Linked DNA regions of Homo sapiens: all the other regions are linked to region 3. Evidence: promoter capture Hi-C in 16 types of primary human blood cells and fetal thymus (Javierre and others, 2016). All regions are on one chromosome and are shown on one strand. The core of a region is centred on a gene start or on the middle of the fragment in contact, and the rest is flanking DNA. Distances in the headings are between cores, read along the strand shown.

Evidence for each region. Contacts are between HindIII fragments. The CHiCAGO score rates a contact against its expected background, and 5 or more counts as called.
Region 1: a contact is called between a fragment that was not itself captured here and the fragment with the promoter of SEC23IP in region 3, in 1 of 17 cell types (non-activated CD4 T cells). The highest score is 6.6, in non-activated CD4 T cells.
Region 2: a contact is called between a fragment that was not itself captured here and the fragment with the promoter of SEC23IP in region 3, in 7 of 17 cell types (naive CD4 T cells, activated CD4 T cells, fetal thymus and 4 more). The highest score is 8.1, in naive CD4 T cells.
Region 4: a contact is called between a fragment that was not itself captured here and the fragment with the promoter of SEC23IP in region 3, in 3 of 17 cell types (naive B cells, naive CD8 T cells and total CD8 T cells). The highest score is 5.9, in naive B cells.
Region 5: a fragment that was not itself captured here is called in contact with the fragment with the promoter of SEC23IP in region 3 in 1 of 17 cell types (activated CD4 T cells); the score reaches 5.4 in activated CD4 T cells.

Annotation. Positions count from the first base shown.
Region 1 is chr10:119,166,521-119,170,795 of GRCh38, reverse strand. It overlaps PRDX3 (peroxiredoxin 3), which reads left to right. Exons shown (of 7, transcript NM_006793.5): 6 at 1,454-1,619; 7 at 2,263-3,076. The coding sequence ends at 2,316. Among named protein-coding and RNA genes, the nearest start is that of SFXN4, 2.9 kb to the right of the region's middle. The HindIII fragment of the contact is 428 bases long and covers 2,250-2,677 here.
Region 2 is chr10:119,041,209-119,045,171 of GRCh38, reverse strand. EIF3A (eukaryotic translation initiation factor 3 subunit A) reads left to right here. Exons shown (of 22, transcript NM_003750.4): 18 at 1,030-1,118; 19 at 2,400-3,178. Among named protein-coding and RNA genes, the nearest start is that of NANOS1, 13 kb to the right of the region's middle. The HindIII fragment of the contact is 5,604 bases long and covers 1-3,963 here.
Region 3 is chr10:119,890,367-119,894,182 of GRCh38, reverse strand. SEC23IP (SEC23 interacting protein) reads right to left here and starts at 1,453. Exons shown (of 19, transcript NM_007190.4): 1 at 1,238-1,453. The coding sequence starts at 1,400. RefSeq lists enhancers at 1,205-1,715, 1,716-2,226, 2,227-2,738. The HindIII fragment of the contact is 6,362 bases long and covers 1-3,481 here.
Region 4 is chr10:119,099,344-119,103,132 of GRCh38, reverse strand. No RefSeq gene overlaps it. Among named protein-coding and RNA genes, the nearest start is that of DENND10, 2.9 kb to the left of the region's middle. The HindIII fragment of the contact is 268 bases long and covers 2,042-2,309 here.
Region 5 is chr10:119,010,408-119,014,472 of GRCh38, reverse strand. All of the region lies in intron 2 of LINC03036 (long intergenic non-protein coding RNA 3036), which reads left to right. Among named protein-coding and RNA genes, the nearest start is that of LINC03036, 17 kb to the left of the region's middle. The HindIII fragment of the contact is 3,933 bases long and covers 1-3,394 here.

The DNA of each region.
Region 1 (4,275 bases), core at 1,214-3,713, 720 kb after region 3:
AGCCTCCCGAGTAGCTGGGATTACAGGCACACGCCACCACGCCCGGCCAATTTTTGTATTCTTAGTAGAGATGGGGTTTCATCGTGTTGGCCAGGCTGGTCTCAAAACTCTTGACTTCGTGATCTGCCTGCCTCGGCCTCTCAAAAGTGCTGGGATTACAGGCATGAGCCACCGCACCTGGCAGACCATTTTTTTTTTTTTAAACTTTAAAGAGATTATCAAACGAATGCCTAGGTCTTTCAGAATTGTCAATGGCCAGAGAAAGGGTACTGGCTATTTTTCTCCTACGGTCCCTTTCCCTATGAGAACTCACTAATTTTGCAGTTACCTCTGTACCCGTTTTAATATTGAGATTAACAAGAGAGAGAAGCTGAGTCTGGCTTATAAGATAAAGACTTTTGGGAGTCTATGGGCCCTGCTCTGTCCCAGCTCTGCCTCACCTTCTATTGGTGGACTTCAGCTGGCTGCACCCTCTGGGAACAGTTTCACCTCAAACCCCAGGCTCCCAGTGCCTGACCCAGGGAGGGAGAAGCATCTTTTATCCTGAGTTTTCTCTAACCTGCCTTTTCCATGAGTGATTGATACCTGAAATTTCCACATCCTTTTAAGACAGACTGTTAAAACCTGTAGGTTAAATAACCGGACACAGTGACACACACCTATAGTCACGCTACTTGGGAGTCTGAGGTGGGAGGATCAGTTGAGCCAGAAGTTCGAGGCTGCAGCCTGCTGTGATCACACCTGAGAAGAGCACTGCACTCCAGCGTGGGCAATACAGTGAGACCCTATATTTAAACCAAACAACCAAAAAAACTTCTAGGCTAAACATATCTGCATCTGTCACAGTAACACCAACACAGAAGATAAACACAGACCACTGTGGTAGCGTGGTTCATCTCATTACATGCTGCTACATGATTAAAAGTGATGGGCATGGTTTTCTGTTTTGCATAGACTTAGAGCCTGTACATTCTTTCTATGAAGATTTTTCCCGTGGGATTTCCCCCCATTTACCCAATAATTCATTCATAATAAACAGTTGTTGAACCTAGATAAAATACACCTCTGTCTCTTCCCATTTGCCTATAAGTTTCTTGCCAAGATGTGATACAGCAGCTCAAAGAATGCTTGCCAAGTCACTAATAGTCTTTGCTCTCTCTAGTTCAGTGACTTTCCGATACTGTGTAACATTCAGGGCACTATGTGAACTTGTAAGTGTGACCATACTGCATGTTTTATGGTGACCTGGTCCAGTACTGCCTTTGTTAAAGCATCTGTCATCAGTAAGAGATGATAAGTTTTTTGCACAACAGTGAAAACCCCACCTTTAAGCATATGATTACGCTTAATAAATATTTTATTAAAAGGAGAATTAAAGACCTAAAAGGGAAGAAGTTAGACTGTTCTAGTTCTGGTACTGTTGAGGCACTGATGAGGATAAATGATCATGCAGAGGTCTCTTCATAATTGACCCCAATGGAGTCATCAAGCATTTGAGCGTCAACGATCTCCCAGTGGGCCGAAGCGTGGAAGAAACCCTCCGCTTGGTGAAGGCGTTCCAGTATGTAGAAACACATGGAGAAGTCTGCCCAGCGAACTGGACACCGGATTCTCCTACGGTAGGTTTTTTTCCCCAAAAGCAGTGAGGTCCATGTTCTCTCAGCCTCGAGAGCTATTGACCTGAAATATCCACAAAAGGGAGCCCACTCTTGAAGCAAGCGTGCAGATGATATGCAAATGGGTGAAGCTGCTGTGGGGTAGAGGGGGTGGGGTGGGGAGCCAGGAACCAATTATCAGAGACAGGCAGGCCTTTTTTTTTTTTTTTGAGACGGAGTCTTGCTCTCGCCCAGGCTGGAGTGCAGTGGCGCTCTCTCAGCTCACTGCAAGCTCCGCCTCCTGGGTTCACGCCATTGTCCTGCCTCAGCCTCCTGAGTAGCTGGGACTACAGGGCGCCCACCACCACGGCTAATTTTTTGAATTTTAGTAGAGACGGGGTTTCACCGTGTTAGCCAGGATGGTCTGGATCTCCTGACCTCGTGATCCACCCGCCTTGGCCTCCCAAAGTGCTGGGATTACCGGCGTGAGCCACCGTGCCCGGCCTAGAGACAGGCAGGCCTTAATGAAACTTTCATCTTTATGTTTTAAAGGAAATCTTTAAAAGTTTAAAGAACTTTAGGTTAAAAATTGGGAGATTGCCACTCACTTTTGGGACTATTATTATGGTAAAGTCACAGTTACCTAATTAAGCTTTTGTATTTTCAGATCAAGCCAAGTCCAGCTGCTTCCAAAGAGTACTTTCAGAAGGTAAATCAGTAGATCACCCATGTGTATCTGCACCTTCTCAACTGAGAGAAGAACCACAGTTGAAACCTGCTTTTATCATTTTCAAGATGGTTATTTGTAGAAGGCAAGGAACCAATTATGCTTGTATTCATAAGTATTACTCTAAATGTTTTGTTTTTGTAATTCTGGCTAAGACCTTTTAAACATGGTTAGTTGCTAGTACAAGGAATCCTTTATTGGTAACATCTTGGTGGCTGGCTAGCTAGTTTCTACAGAACATAATTTGCCTCTATAGAAGGCTATTCTTAGATCATGTCTCAATGGAAACACTCTTCTTTCTTAGCCTTACTTGAATCTTGCCTATAATAAAGTAGAGCAACACACATTGAAAGCTTCTGATCAACGGTCCTGAAATTTTCATCTTGAATGTCTTTGTATTAAACTGAATTTTCTTTTAAGCTAACAAAGATCATAATTTTCAATGATTAGCCGTGTAACTCCTGCAATGAATGTTTATGTGATTGAAGCAAATGTGAATCGTATTATTTTAAAAAGTGGCAGAGTGACTTAACTGATCATGCATGATCCCTCATCCCTGAAATTGAGTTTATGTAGTCATTTTACTTATTTTATTCATTAGCTAACTTTGTCTATGTATATTTCTAGATATTGATTAGTGTAATCGATTATAAAGGATATTTATCAAATCCAGGGATTGCATTTTGAAATTATAATTATTTTCTTTGCTGAAGTATTCATTGTAAAACATACAAAATAAACATATTTTAAAACATTTGCATTTTACCACCAGTAACTGTTGGATCAGCTTATTTTGGGCTCTCCTTTCCTTCTCAGATTATCAACAAACATTTATTGAGCATTTACCTCAGGGGCCACAAAGAGAATAAGATGCTGGTTCCGCACTCAAGGAACTCGGTTTAGGGGCAAGACAGATAGGGAAACATTTTCTCGTTGTTTCAGTAAATCCTTGAGTGCCTACCCCGCACCAGGTGCTGTTTTCCAGGCACAAGAGCGAACAACGGACAAACCCCTGCTTTTAAGCTCTTACATTCTAGAGGGGAAACACCTCATACATGTAGTAAAAGTAGAGTGTTTGGAAGGAAAATAATGTGGAGTGAAACTGCTGAAGCGGAGTTGTAGGTGTTCTAGATGGGGTTGTCAAGGAAGGCCTTAAGGGAGAGCCTCTCTGGATCAATTTTCTCATTGTAAAATGAGGACAATAATTGTACTTATCTCAGGGTTTTGATGAGCATCGAGGGAGAGAAAACGCGTAGAAAGTGAGAGTATTACGGGGATAAGAGACTTCTAGGCAGAGGGCAGGGAAAACACAAAGGCCGTGAGGCAAGAGTGGGCTCAGAGCGGATGCAGATTTACTAGGAGGCCGGTGACTATGGCTGTGGTGGGGGTCCCAGAGTGCCTTTTGGCCAGGCCAAGGACTTTAGGTTCTGTTCTGGGGTGGGGAATGTCAGGAAGGATTTGAAAAGAAGAGTGACATCAACTTGTTCTAAGAGAATCACTCTGGCTCCTTTGTTAAGACGACATAGCAGTCCAAAGTGGGGAAGCAGGCCAGCGGGCTGGCTTTGTGACATCCTGGAGGGTAGAGACAACAGAATAGAACAGCACGCTACATACTGCACTGGTGCTTAGATGGATTTCTGCGGCATAAGGGTAGAAGTGGAGGGGGCACCTTACTCAACTCGGAGGGTCAGGGAAGGCTTCCTGGAAGAGGAGATAAACCCCTGGAGGTTAAGAAAAGTGAGCTAGGCAAACTGAGCAAATACAGAAGCAGAGTCATACAGGCCTGAAGGACGCCATGAGCCAATTTCCTGTTCCTGGAGGCGCAGGGCAAGGGAAGGAATTGGCCCGCTGGAGGTTAATGGCCAATACTGAGCACTTCTGAGGGCTCAGTGCTGTGTTAGGGATGTTTTATCTCCTTTGATCAGAAACAAAACCCTGAGATAGGTACAATTG
Region 2 (3,963 bases), core at 1,218-3,717, 850 kb after region 3:
GGAGTTCGAGACCAGCATGGCCAACATGTTGAAATCCCATCTCTACTAAAAATATAAAAATTAGTCGGGCATGGAGGCAGGCGCTTGTAGTCCTAGCTACCTGGGAGGCTAAGGCTCAAGAATAGCTTGAATGTGGGTGGCAGAGGCTGCAGTTAGCTGAGATCGTACCACTGCACTCCATCCTGGGTAACAGAGTGAGATTCCACCTCAAAAAAAAAAAAAAAAAAAAGAAAAGAAAATTCAAATAAAGGTTCTCTTATTCACGCATTGTTTGAGACTGTAGCTTATTCTTAGCTTTGTAGATTCTTTTATTTTTATTTTTTTGAGACAGAGGCTTGCGCTCTGGTGCAGGCTGGAGTGCAGTAGTGTGATGTTGGGTAACTGCAAGTTTTGCCTTCTGGGTTCAAGCGATTCTCCTGCCTCAGCCTCCCAAGTAGCTGGGACTACAGGCGCCTGCCACCACGCCTGGCTAATTTTTTGTATTTTTAGTAGAGACAGGGTTTCACCGTGTTAGCCAGGATGGTCTTGATCTCCTGACCTCGTGATCCACCTGCCTCGGCCTTCCAAACTGCTGGGATTACAGGCGTGAGCCACCGCGCCCGGCCCATCAGAGTACTTTGAATAGAGAAGTACTGTTAATTTAACCACCCCCATTAGACATTAAATAAAATGTCTCCACCTTTCTTTGCTTCGTAGGCACTGTGATGTCCATTTCAGGGCATGTGGCTTTTTTCACATTCTTCAAAGGGGATTTCTAGGTTGAAGGAAATCTGTAGAGGTGTATGTTCCCAGGTTGCTTTCCAGCACAGTGTTATATCGGTTTGTAAGGCCACCTACAATATATGAGACTACCAGTTTCCCTGTAGCGTCAGTCTGATCTCAGATTAAAAAATAAATGAAATTTTAAAACTTGCTTATTTAAGGGCTTCATATTGTTATAAGTACAAAAAATATTTGAATGGTAATACCAGTAGTTGTAATAGTAAATGGTTACCAATGTAATGCTTCTTTTTCACTTTGTCAATGGAGGACTCTCGTTGGGGAGATAGAGATTCAGAAGGCACCTGGAGAAAAGGACCTGAAGCAGATTCTGAGTGGAGAAGAGGCCCGCCAGAGAAGTAAGTAGAGTTGAGGAAAATAATGCCGCTCCAGTTCCTGTTAATATCTTATCAGTGGTTTTAAAATTTGGTTCATTTTGTAGAGGCAGGGAAAGGAGAGCCATGAAGAATTGTGTGCATGTCTGATTGCGTGTGGGTTTGTATTTTGTTTTTTTGGGTCTGCTGCCCAGGCTGGGGTGCAGTGGCGCTATCTCGGCTCCCTGCAACCTCTGCCTCCTGGGTTCAAGTGCCTCAGCCTCTCGAATAGCTGGGATTACAGGTGTGTGCCACCACACCTGGCTACTTTTTGTATTTTTAGTAGAGATGGGGTTTTGCCATGTTGCCCAAGCTGGCTTTGACCTCTTGACCTCAAGCGATCTGACTGTCTCAGCCTCTCAAATTGCTGGGATGACAGGCATGAGCCACTGCACTTGGCCTGTGTTGTTGTTTTTGTTGTTGTTGTTGTTGTTTTGAGATGGCGTCTCACTCTGGAGTGCAGTGGCGCGATCTCGGCTCACTACAGCCTCAACCTCCCTGGGCTTAGGTGATCCTCCTGCCTCAGCCTCCTGAGTAGCTGGGACCACAGGTGCGCTCCACCATGCCTGGTTAATTTTGTTTGTTTGTTTCTTTGTTTTTGAGACAGAATCTAGCTCTGTCACCCAGGCTGGAGTGCAGTGGCGCGTTCTCGGCTCACTGCAGCCTCCGCCTCCTGGGTTGAAGCAATTCTTGTGCCTCCCAAGTAGCTGGGAGGCACTTGTAATCCTCCCAAGTAGGATTACAGACATGCACCACCACGCCTGGCTAATTTTTGCATTTTTAGTAGACCCGAGGTTTCACTATGTTGGCCAGGCTGGTCTTGAACTCCTGACCTCAAGAAATCTGCCTGCCTCGGCCTCCCAAAGTGCTGGGATTACAGGTGTGGGCCACTACGCCTGGTGAATTTTTATATTCTTTATAGTGATGGGGTTTTGACATGTTGCCCAGGCTAGTCTCAAACTCCTGGGCTCAAGCAATCCTCCCGCCTTGGCCTTCCAAAGTGCTGGGATTACAGGTGTGAGCGACTGTGCCCAGCCGCATGTCTTACAATTAAGTAGAGATGGGTTTTGCCAGGCCAGGCTGGTCTTGAACTCCTGACCTCAGGTGATCTGCCTGCCTCTGCTTCCCAGAGTGCTGGGATTAAAGGTGCGAGCCACTGCTCCGGCCCATACTGAAGTTTTTAAAAAGCATGTGAAAAAAAAAATCCCCAAAGGATCATATGCTTTTTTATTTTATATATTTTTAATTGTTCTTGTTGCTGTGTAGGGAGTGGAGACGTGGAGAAGGGCGAGATGAGGACAGGTCTCATAGAAGAGATGAAGAGCGGCCCCGGCGTCTGGGGGATGATGAAGATAGAGAGCCCTCTCTTAGACCAGACGATGATCGGGTTCCCCGGCGTGGCATGGATGATGACAGAGGCCCTAGACGTGGTCCTGAGGAAGATAGGTTCTCTCGTCGTGGGGCAGACGATGACCGGCCTTCCTGGCGTAACACAGATGATGACAGGCCTCCCAGACGAATTGCCGATGAAGACAGGGGAAACTGGCGTCATGCGGATGATGACAGACCACCTAGACGAGGACTGGATGAGGACAGAGGAAGCTGGCGAACAGCTGATGAGGACAGAGGACCAAGACGTGGGATGGATGATGACCGGGGGCCGAGGCGAGGAGGCGCTGATGATGAGCGATCATCCTGGCGTAATGCTGATGATGACCGGGGTCCCAGGCGAGGGTTGGATGATGATCGGGGTCCCAGGCGAGGCATGGATGATGACCGGGGTCCCAGGCGAGGCATGGATGATGACCGGGGTCCCAGGCGAGGCATGGATGATGACCGGGGTCCCAGGCGAGGGTTGGATGATGATCGAGGACCTTGGAGGAACGCCGATGATGACAGAATTCCCAGGCGTGGTGCAGAGGATGACAGGGGCCCTTGGAGAAACATGGATGATGATCGCCTTTCAAGACGTGCTGATGATGATCGGTTTCCCAGACGGGGTGATGACTCAAGACCTGGTCCTTGGAGACCATTAGTCAAGCCAGGTAAAATTCTATTTCCTAGAATATGCTTAAGTGTTCACCTGTAAAAGTGAAATTCTGATGGATAAATATCAGGGCTGTATTGTTATTTTCCAGATAAACTGGTCTTTCATCTTTCCTTCAGTATCATTTGCAGTGACTTCGCTGTCAAAAGTTTGCCTTCAGAATACCACCATCCAAAACATAAATAACCCAACCCCTCTCTTCTTTAGTGATGTGCTCTTTGTTTTCCTTCTGCTTCGATGACTGCTTCTTTGAAGGCTCTTCCTGTACTCATGCTTTCAGTATTGGTGTATTTTTCAGGTTTTACTGGGAACCAGCCTCCTTTTAAAAATAAATAATTGAAACCAAAATGTACTTTATATATTTATTTTTGCCAACTGAGAGATTATGCAAGGAGGAACTCATTTTACTTTACTTTTTTTGAGACAGGGTCTTGCTCTGTTGCACAGGCTGGAATGCAGTGGTGCAGTCATGGCTCACTGCAACCTTGACCTCCCGGACCCTAGGGAGCCTCCCACTTCAGCCTTCTGAGTAGCTAGGACTACAGGCGCATGCCACCACACCCTGCTAATATTTTATTTTTTGGAGAGACGGGGTTTCGCTATGTTGCCCAGGCTGGTCTCAAACTCCTGGGCCCAAGTTATCCTTCTGCCTCTCCCTCCCAAAGTGAAGTGCTGGGATAACGGGTGTGAGGCGCTGCGCCCAGCCTCATTTTTTTTCTTAGTCCTGGGCCTGCTTATTGTTTCACACTTTATTATTCGTGAGCAGTTGTATACATGTTTGTG
Region 3 (3,816 bases), core at 204-2,703:
TGTTTATTTCACAAACATTAAATCACACTGTCTGGCACGCACTATACTTAGCGCTTTGCAAAAATTAAAGCATTTCTAATTACAATTCTGTGAGGCTACACATACATAGAAACTGAAGCACAGAGAGGTAAAGTAAAATGCCTACAGTCACACAGCAAGTTACTGGCAGGGCAAGGACTGGAATACAGACAGTCTGTGCTCTTAAACACTATGCTCTGGGCAATGCTACATAATCATCAAAAAGCAATCTCCCTGGACAATAATACAAATATGAAAAAAGAGCTAGGAGTGCACATAGGAGTGGGGGCCTAAGAGAACAAGAAACAGCTTCTTGGAAGAAGTGATGTATTGTCTTGAAAGATGAGGAATGGGTGGGGGGTTAAACCTGTAATCCCAGCACTTTGGGAGGCCAGGGCAGGCGGATCACTTGAGGTCAGGAGATTGAGACCATCCTGGCCAACATGGTGGAACCCTGTCTCTACTACAAATACAAAAATTAGCCAGGCATGGTGGCAGACGCCTGTAGTCCCAGCTACTCGGGAGGCTGAGGCAGGAGAATCACTTGAACCTGGAAGGTGGAGGCTGCAGTGAGCCGAGATCGCGCCACTGCATTCCAGCCTGGGCGACAGAGCAAGACTCCGTCTCAAAAAAAAAAAAAAAAAAAAAAAGATAAGGAATGCATTGTATATGTCTACTTCACAAATATTACAGGCTTCTAGAAGAGGGGCACAGTCCATCTTATAAGATATCTTACTGTAACCTAGAAGATATTGTACTGTATCACAACAATCTCCTAGTAGGAGACAGTGTACCGTATCCTAGGAGAGGGGCACAGTCCATCCTAGGAGGTATCTTACCGTATCCTAGGAGTCTCCTAGTGGGAGACAGACTACTGTACCCTAGGAGAGGGCCACTGTTTAATTTATTTGCATTTCCTGCCAGCACCTGGCGTACCAACAACGGGTATTCAGCAAAGATTTGCGGAATGCCAGGGTACGAATGAATGTCCAGCACTCTGGACAACTCGGAACAGGGGGTTTCCGTGAAGAGCAAGTCTCATCACCTGCCACCTCCAAGATCCCAAAGCCCCCGACCCACTCAAACCTGGCCAGTAATGATCCTGGCAAGCTATCCAGAGGGTAGCTCGAGGCAGAAGGAAAAACTCCCGTCTGACCTTTGTCATTGCACGTCCCCCGCCCGCCTCCCACCACACACGGGGCCGCCCTCCCCTTATTACCTCCCGGTAAGAGCAGGGAGGCCGGAGAAGCGGAGGCCTGGGTGACTGGGATGAAGGGCACATTGAAGCTGAACTCCGTGGCCGAGGAGGAGAAAAGTAAGTTAGTGCCCGATGAGGAAGTGGAGGCGCCGCCGCTGCCACCGTTAGGTTTTCTCTCGGCCATGGCTGCGGCCCACCGTCCGATACACGTCTCCGGGTACCCGGTACCACACCACTGACCGGAAACCGATCACGCTCCTGGCCAGCGCACTTCCGCACTTGCGCACAGGAGCCGAAATTACGGGTAGCTAGTCAGCCGCCCTCTCCCTTCCCCTACACGGCGACGCCAGATATCAACATGGCGACACTGTCTTCACGCCCGCGTCTAGCACGTGACACCCTCGGAGGCGGAGGCCGGGCGGGAGGATGGGGACGTGGTCCCCGCAGGTTCTGGATAGACGTGCGAATTGAGACGCAATTGACCCTGAAAGTCACAGGTTGTGGCGGGTATCTATGGGCTTCCTAAAGGTACCGTCAGGATGGCTCTCCTGACAAAGATTTTGGAGGAACAGCGGAATCCTGCTGGACGCTACCGGAAGGAGGAAGGGAGGAAGAGCGTTGTGCGGGAATGGGAATTCGCATGCTAGGCGGAACCAAACACCCTCTCCAAAACCCACTTGTCTTTCTGGATGGAACCGAACATTGTGGTTGACCCAGAAATAGAAGTGGTAAAACATTTTTTAAGTGTTTAATCCATAGGGAGAAAAAAATATTTCGTTTTATTTTTGTTGTTTTTTGTTTTGCATTTGTTTTTTGTTTTTTTGGTTGGTTTTGTTTTTTGTTTTGAGACAAGTCTGCTGTGTCGCCCAGGCTGGAGTGCAGCGGTGCAGTCTGGGCTCATTGCAATCTCCGCCTCCCGGGTTCAAGCGATTCTCCTGCCTCAGCCTCCGAGTAGCTGGGACTACAGGCGTCCGCCACCACGCCTGGCTAATTTTTTGTATTTTTAGTAAAGACGAGGTTTCACCGGGTTGGCCAGGATGGTCTCAATCTCCTGACCTCGTGATCTGCCCGCCTTGGCCTCCCAAACTGCTGGGATTATAGGCATGAACCACCACGCCTGGCCAAAAAAAATATTTAAAAGAGAAATCAAACCAGACGCCATGGCGCAGGCCTGCAATCCCAGCACTTTGTGAGGCAGAGCGGGAGGATAGCTTGAGCCCAGAAGGTTGAGACCAACCTGGCCAACATGGTGAAACCCCGTCTCTACTAAAAATACAAAAATTAGCCGGGCTTGGTGGCATAGCACCTATATTGCCAGCTACTCAGGAGGCTGAGGCGGGAATATTGCTTGAGGCCAAATTAACCCTGATCTTGCCACTCACTGTGCAGCGAGACCCTGTCTCCTTAAAAAAAAAAAAAAGAAAAAAAAAGAAACCAGGGCATTGAAATTAGAGATCTGACATTTTAGATAGCTTTCTATATCCACAGTAAGCTGACTTACTTCAATCCAGGAGGTACTGTGGATAACTTGGACATAATTGTCATCTTTCATAGTTAGAGATTTTGAAGGAAAATATAACTTAAGCCATATTTCAGCTTCTTGGAGGTTGGGAGAGGAGATACCAAAAGAACGCTCAAAATAATGAAACTCTGCTCAGCTGTTTACACATATATAGAACCTAAGTTTATTAATTCAATAACGATTTCATGTGCTTACTGTCAAGAAAAATTTTTTAAGTGGGACACTCGTTAAAGCAGTAAATTAGATTTTATTTAATGAAAACTATTGCTAGGGAATTGGGTCCAGCATGAACTGAACACAACTTTGCTGAAACAAAAATTTGGAGGCTTTTTAGAGGCTGTGGTGTGCTAAGGGAAAGGTGCTGAGGAGTGTGAAGGGTTGGTTCGTCCTGCAACTAGGCCATCTGGGTGTGTTAATCCATGCTTATCCAGAGGAGACATAATTTTTCTGTCTTCATGACAAGCAGTGGTGTAAGAGAGCAAGGTAGCCACAGGGACTGGGAATGAGAATGAGAACCACCTCCTTGAAGGCTTGCAATTCAAGAGACAAACCCCCAGGTCCTTGAGAAGACAGTTCTCAGTGGTCATGTGTCCGGAGTTGGTTCCTTCCGGTGGGTTCTTGGCCTCACTGACTTCAAGAATGAAGCCGCGGACCTTTGTGGTGAGTGTTACAGCTCTTCAAGGTGGCACAGACCCAGAGTGAGCAGCAGCAAGATTTATTGTGAAGAGCGAAAGAACAAAGCTTCCGTAGCGTGGAAGGGGACCTGACTGGGTTGCTGCTGCTGGCTCGGGTGGCCAGCTTTTATTTATTTATTTGTCACTGCCCTCATCCTGCTGCTTGGTCCATTTTACAGAGCGCTGATTGGTCCATTGTAAAGAATGCTGATTGGTGCATTTACAATCCTTTAGCTAGACACAGAGTGTTGATTGGTGCATTTTTACAGAGTGCTGATTGGTGCATTTACAATCTTCTAGCTAGACACAGAGCACTGATTGGTGTGTTTTTACAGAGTGCTGATTGGTGCATTTACAGTCCTTCAGCTAGACACAGAGCACTGATTGGTGCATTTACAATCCTC
Region 4 (3,789 bases), core at 926-3,425, 790 kb after region 3:
CTCAGAATGATATGTGCCCTGGAGGCAACGATATGTGCCCTGGAGGCAGTGTGTTAGAGAGTGGAGGTGTGCTGCTCTAAAATGGGTGTCAAGAAAGGCTTCTCTGAGAAAGGGATATTTGAACTGAGATCTGAATGATAGTAACGACTCAGACATTGGAAGATTTGGCTCCAAGATTCCTCCTCTGGATCTACTGTCTGCCCCAACCCCAAGTCACACAGAGCTAATTAGGGAGGGTCCTTGGTGTCTGCAGGAATACAATCCCACCCTCATCTTTTTTTCTTTTTTCTTTTTTTTTTTTTTTTTTTGAGATGGAGTCTTGTTCAGTTGCCCGGCCTGGAGTGCAATAGCGCGATCTCGGCTCACTGCAACCTCCGCCTCTCGGTTTTAAGGGATTCTCCTGCCTCAGCCTCCTGCGTAGCTGGGATTACAGGCGTGAGCCACTGCGCCTGTTTTTTTCTTTTTTCTTTCTTTTTTTTTTGGAGACAGTTTCTCGCTATGTTGCCCAGGCTGCAATTTATACATTGGAGTATATTTAGGTGTGTATATGGCATTCCTGTTTCTCTCACTAAACTGAACCCCTGGAAGGCAGCACCCTGAACTACGTGCCCTTCTATTCTCTGGGCTTCCTGTTGTAGTATAACTGTTAATGTGTCTAGTTTTCACAGAAAAGAAGCAGGTGTTTAGAGGCTGAGGAGTGGGACACAGATGTGGAATCAGTTTGGAAGCCAACTAGAAACTTGCACTAGGTGGGGCACGGTGGCTCACGCCTGTAATCCTAGCACTTTGGGAGGCTGAGGTGGGTGGATCACGAGGTCAGGAGATTGAGACCAACCCGGCTAAAACGGTGAAACCCTGTCTCTACTAAAAATACAAAAAATTAGCCGGGCGTGGTGGCAGGTGCCTGTAGTCCCAGCTACTTGTGAGGCTGAGGCAGGAGAATGGCGTGAACCCGGGAGGCGGAGCTTGCAGTGAGCCGAGATCACGCCACTGCACTCCAGCCTGGGCGACAGAGCGAGACTCCATCTCAAAAACAAACAAACAAAAAATCACAAAAATTAGCTAGGCATGGTGGCAGGTGCCTGTAATCCCAGCTACTCAGGAAGCTGAGGCAGACTGGCTTGAACCCAAGAGAGGACGGTTGCAGTGAGCCAAGATCGCGCCACTGCATTCCAGCCTGGGCGACAGAGTGAGACTCCATCTCAGAAAAAAAAAGAAAAGAAATGAGGATGAAGACGATGATGAACAGATAATTAAACAAAGGAGAGGGAGATGATAGTGGGTGCAGGGAGGGGAAAGATAATGAGGGGTGTGTCCAGGCTCCAGTGAGTGGGATGATACCTGGAATTGACACCTCCTTCCCTCCTGTTTCTCCACAAGTGCTGTCTTACCTGCCAGACAGGTACACCAGAGTGAAGGGAAAAGGAATAGAGGGTGGAGAGAGCAGAGGCGACGCATCCCCAATCTTTAAAAGTAAGACTGACCTCTGCGCTGTCACAGACAGATGGAGCTGGGGTGTGGAAACAGACAACCTGAGTTCCAACCCCCTTGCCCATCTTAGCTGCGAAACCTCACACATGTTTCCTATCTTTTCTGTGCATGTTTTCTCAGTGATCAAATGGAGCTAACCATACTTTCCTCCGTGACTCTCCCAATAAAGATTTGAATCAGGGAAAATCTTTATGCTAGTTTTATTGATAAGAATAGCCTAATTTTATAGGTAAGAATATAAAGGGTCCCCAAGACCACCCCCCAAATTCAATGATTTGTTGGAAGGATTCTCAGGATTCAGCATATAGCTATACTCATGGCTATGATATACATTTTTATTTTTTTGAGACAGGGTCTCACTCTGTCACCCAGGCTGGAGTGCAGTGGCACGATCACGGCTCACTGCAGCTTTGATCCAGGCTCAAGCTATCCTCCCACCTCATCCTCCTGAGTAGCTGGGACTACAGGCAGGCACCACCATGCCTAGCTATTTTTTTTTTTTTTTTTTTGAGATGTGATCTCACCATATTGTGTAGGCTGATCTCAAGCTTCTGACCTCAAGCGATCTGCCCACCTCAGGCTCCAAAGTGCTGGGGTTACACATGTGAACCACCATCCCCAGCTCAGGGCTATGATTTATTACAGCCAGAGAATACAAAGCAAAATCAGCAAAGGGAAAAGGCACATGGGGTGATGTCTGGAGGAAACCAGGGCCAAGTTCCCAAGAGTTATTTCCTGGTAGAGTCACACAGGACACACCTAATTCCTCCAGCAACAAGTTGTGGCAATACTTGTGATATTTATCAACCAGGGAAGCTTGTTAGAACTCAGTCACCAAGTAACTCAGTTTTTACTGGGGGCCAGTCACATAGGTACCCTCTGCCTAGCTCATACCAGATTTCCAGACTCTCATGAACCACATTGTATGTACAAATAGTTCAGGCATAGTCTGTCACTCTGATCAGTTTGATCAGTTCTAGAAATGCTGGGAACACTGCCGAAGTCCAAGTTTCCAGGCACAGCCAAGGGCCAAACTGGCCAGCAGACTTTCTATGGATATCACCCTCAGGCCTGTCGTGTGAATTCTTTTTTGCACAGCCTGCTCACTCCTTGCTCTGCAGAAAAAGAGTAAGTTACTGGCACTGAAGCAGATTTGGAAAGTGCCTAAACTGTCTGGCCACATGGACAAGTGCACAAGGGACCCCAGCATCTTCCAGGTGTTCCAATCCCAGGTTCCTATGAGTCAAATATGGTTCTTTTTCATCTTTGTTTCTGTAATTGGATTCCATCATAGATTGGGCATGTGTCAGCCAAGGGAGCCATTAGGGTGGCAGTTTTTTTTTGTTGTTGTTGTTTTGTTTGTTTGTTTGTTTTGATGGAGTCTTGCTCTGTCGCAATGCAGTGATGCAATCTCAGCTCACTGCAACTTCCGCCTCCTGGGTTCAAGCAATTCTCCTGTCTCAGCCTCCTGAGTAGCTGGGACTACAGGCGCAGGCCACCACACCCGGCTAATTTTTGTATTTTTAGTAGAGACAGGGTTTCACCATATTGGTCAGACTGGTCTCGAACTCCTGACCTCAGGTGATCCACCCACCTCAGCCTCCCAAAGTGCTGGGATTACAGGTGTGAGCTACTGTGCCCAGCCTTTTTTTTTTTCTGAGACGGAGTCTTGCTCTGTCACCCAGGCTGGAGTGCAGTGGTGTGATCTCCACTAACTGCAACCTCCGCCTCCCAGGCTCAAGCAATTCTCCTGCCTCAGCCTCCCAAGTAGCTGGGACTACAGGTGTGTGCCACCAAGCCTGGTTAATTTTTTTTTATTTTTAGTAGAGATGGGGTTTCACCATGTTGGCCAGGCTAGTCTGAAACTCTTGGCCTCAAGTGATCCATCCGCCTTGGCCTCCCAAAGTGCTGGGATTACAGGTGTGATCCACCACGCCTGGCCAAGCTCTTTTAATTTAAGGGATTCAGTCTCACTTGGGAACTGGAAGGCGATTCAGTCAACTGCTCTGACACTCCGTCCTGACTTCTAGCATATGTGAGGCTTCCAGAACATTCCCAAGATGAAGTCATCCTCCTTGTGTTCTCAATGGTTTCAGGATGCTGGGTAGCTCTCCGGCCCTAAGAAGCCCAGGTTTCGAGCTGTGTTGCATTATTCTTTTTTCTTTCTTTCTTTCTATTTATTTATTCATTTATCTATTGAGACAGGGTCTTGCTCTGTCACCCAAGCTGGGGTGCAGTCGTTCAATCACAGCTTGCTGCAGACTTGACCTTCCAGGCTCAAGCAATTCTCCCACCTCA
Region 5 (4,065 bases), core at 179-2,678, 880 kb after region 3:
GAAACCCTGTCTCTACTACATATACAAAAATTAGCTGGGTGTGGTGGCACACACCTGTAGTCCCAGCTGCTTGGGAGGCTGAGGCACAAGAATCGCTTGAACCTGGGAGTTGGAGGTTGCAGTGAGCCGAGATCAGGCCACTGCACTCCAGCCTGGGTGACAGAGTGAGACTCCCTCTCAAAAAAAAAAAAAAAAGTGAGAGGAGCTGTTTGTAATACATGTCATTGACTAAGGTCCTAGTGCCCAGAAGATATAAAATAACTAAAAATTGATATGAGATATACACACAAATAGAAAAATTTGTGAAACGTGTGAAAAGGCACTTATAGCAGAAGAAATGTAAATGGATATTAAAAGGATAAACTAGATTATAATCGGGAATTCAAATTATAACTAAAATGAGATACCACTTTACACCATCAGATTGGCAAAATCAAATATTCTATCAATATCAGACATTGACAAGAATGTGGTATAACTGGAACTTATATATTGCTAGAGAGAATTAAATTGGTATAATCGATGTGGAAAACAACTTGGAAATATTTAGAAAAGTTGAAGGCAAAAATAATTTGTGGCCTAGCAGTCAGCCAGACAGATGCTCCTGAGGACCAGGAAACACGATTAAGAATGTTTACACACTACCTACCAAACTAAAGTGGTTGTAGTAAAAGAAACTGGAAAAACCAAGTGAGGACATGAAGAAACTGGAACTTTTTTTTTTTTGAGAAGGAGCTTTGCTCTTATTGCCTAGGCTGGCGTGCAATGGTGTGATCTCGGCTTACTGCAACCTCCGCCTTCCGGGTTCAAGCGATTCTCCTGCCTCAGCCTCTTGAGTAGCTGGGATTACAGGCATGTGCCACCATGCCCAGCTAATTTTGTATTTTTAGTAGAGATGGGGTTTCTCCATATTGGTCAGCCTGGTCTCAAACTCCCGACCTCAGATGATCCGCCCTCCTTGGCCTCCCAAAGTGCTGGGATTACAGGCATGAGTCATTATGCCCGACTTTTTTTTTCGAGACAAAAGTCTCCCTCTGTCTCCCAGGCTGGAGTGCAGTGGTGTGATCTCGGCTCACTGCAACCTCTGCCTCCCAGGCAGAGCAATTCTTCCTCAGCTTCCTGAGTAGCTGGGATTACAGGCACCTGCCATCCGGCCCAGCTAAATTTTGTATTTTTTGTAGAGATGGGGTTTTGCCATGTTGGACAGGCTGGTCTCAAACTCCTGACCTCATGATCTGCCTGCCTCGGCCTCCCAAAGTACTGGGATTATAGGAGTGAGCCACCACACCTGCTGGAAAGGCACATCTTATATGGTGGCAGGCAAAGCAAGAATAAGAGCCAAGCAAAAAGGGAAAGCCCTTACAAAACCATCAGATCTTACGAGATGTATTCACTACCACAAGAACAGTGGGGGAAACCGCCCCTATGATTCAATTATCTCCCACCGGGTCCCTCCCACAACACCTAGGAATTACGGGAACTACAATTCAAGATGAGATTTGGGTGGGGACACAGTCAAACCATATCAACTACTCAGAAATAAAAAGGAACAGACTATAGATACTGAAGGTTAAAAACATTATGCTCCGTGCAAGAAGCCAAACACAGAATACTACATATTATCTGATTACACTTGTAGAAAAGGCAGCACTGTAGAGACAGAAAGCATATCATCGGCTGCCTGGGCTATGGGTGGGTGGATAGGGAGGACTGCCTGCAAATAGGCATGAGGAAACTTCTGGGGGTGATGGAATGTTCTAAAACTAGGTGGTGGTGATGGCTACACAACTATATAATTTTTTGTTTGTTTGTTTCTGTTTTTAGGCAGGGTCTGGCTCTGTTGCCCAGGCTGGAGTGCAATGGTGTGATCTTAGCTCACTGCAACCTCTGCCTCCCTGGCTCAAGTCATCCTTCCACCTCAGACTCCCAAGTAACTGGGACTACAGGTGCACTACCATGCCTGACTAATTTTTGAATTTTTTGTAGAGATGGGGTTTCACCACATTGTCCAGGCTAGTCTTGAACTTCTGAGCTCAAGCAGTCCACCCGCCTCAGCCTCCCAAAGTGCTGGTATTACAGATGTGAGCCACTGTGCCCTGCCAAAGCTGTATATAGTCCAATTATAATGGGTACATTTTATAGTAATATAAATTATACCTCAATAAGGTTGTTAAAAGTGTTCACACTAACATTGTTCCTAATTGCCCCAAACTGGAAATAGCTCAAATATTCATCAGCAGAATGGATAAATACACTGTGGTATGTCTGTTCAACAGAACCCATGAGCAGTATTAATAAGCAAGTAATAAGCAGTCCTCCCACCTCAGCCTACTGAGTAGCTGGGACCACAGGTGCACACCACCAAGCCTGGCTAATTTTTTTGTGTTTTTGTGTAGAGATGGGGTTTTACCACATTGCCCAGGCTGGGCTCAAACAACCCACCAGCCTCCACCTCCCAAAGTGCTGGGACTACAGGCATGAGCCATCATGCCCAGCCAAATCCCTTAATAATAATAATAATAATAATAATAATTATTATTATTATTATTATTATTTTTTGAGACGGAGTCTTGCTCTGTTGCCCAAGGTGGAGTGCAGTGGTGCGATCTCGGCTCACTGCAAGCTCCACCTCCCGGGTTCACGCCATTCTCCTACCTCAGCCTCCCGAGTAGCTGGGACTACAGGCGCCCGCCATCACGCCTGGCTAATTTTTTGTATTTTTAGTAGAGATGGGGTTTCACCGTGTTAGCCAGGATGGTCTCGATCTCCTGACCTCATGGTCTGCCCGCCTCGGCCTCCCAAAGTGCTGGGATTACAGGTGTGAGCCACCACGCCCAGCCATCCCTTTATTATCACGGATATTGCTGATGACATTTCACAGCTGACTGGGCTCTGCAGTTGAGAATTACTGAGAATCGCTGCTCCAGGCTCGAATCCATCACCTTCGGTGATGTTTGTTTGGGCTTCTCCATCCAGGCAGACACTAGTCACCACTTAGGGTGGGTTTGAGGAGTTTCATCCTTCCTTTTGGTGTTGGTGGGAGATTATCAGGGAAGTGGAGCTCAGGGACCCCCAGCGAGGACCCTTGCATCTTTGTGAGGTCGAGCATGGTGTGGTGGGAGGAGGGAGTCCAGGAAAACCATCAGGATGTGCTGATGATAAGCACTGGGGAATTCTCAGTGTGAAAGGAGAAACACTGAACATGGCTTGGCTTGTGGAGAGGAGATGCTGTTTGGCGTCCTTCTGAGATCTGCTCACCCTTTATGCCTAACGGCCTTGCTGGACCACAGCATGGATGCTTACGAGTTACTGTGTGTCAAATTTAGGCTCACTTTTGCCTAAACTTGTGTATTTCCTGGGGTGGTAATTTGACCTTTTCATCTGTTGACAAGCTTAAAAAGTTGCAGGAACTTTGCCCTCATGGTGGGCATCTCATGATCATAATGAAGTTATAAATTAAAGTCAAAATTAAGAAGTTAAACTCCACACATACACACAACCTAATAGGAAATACATGTAAATATTTACCTCATCTCTGAATTAGGAGGGCCTTTCAAAGCATTTAGATGATGGCTGATATCCCAAAGGGAAAAGTATCTGACAATATGAAAAAAAAAAAAAAAAAAAGTGGGTGGGTGTGGTGGCTTACACCTGTAATCCCAGCACTTTGAGAGGCCGAAGCGAGGGGATTGCTTGAGTCATGAGTTTGAGACCAGCCTGGGCAACATAGTAAAACCTTGTGTCTACTAAAAATGCAAAAGACAAATAACCCAAAAACCACCACCAACAACAACAAAAAAAACCTAAATAAAAGGTATAAAACATTAACAACAAAATGCTAAAAAGCAACAACAAACAACTATTTATGGCAAACATTTTCCCCTAACAAATATGCATGGCAAATATTTTCCAAAATATATTTGTCATATATACAAGAACACAGGGTTACTAGCTTTAATGTTGATATTGCTATGTACATAAAACACAAACTGATTAGAAAATTATTAACACAAAAATAGAAAAGTGGGCAAAAAATGTGAACAAATGATCATAGATAAAATAAAA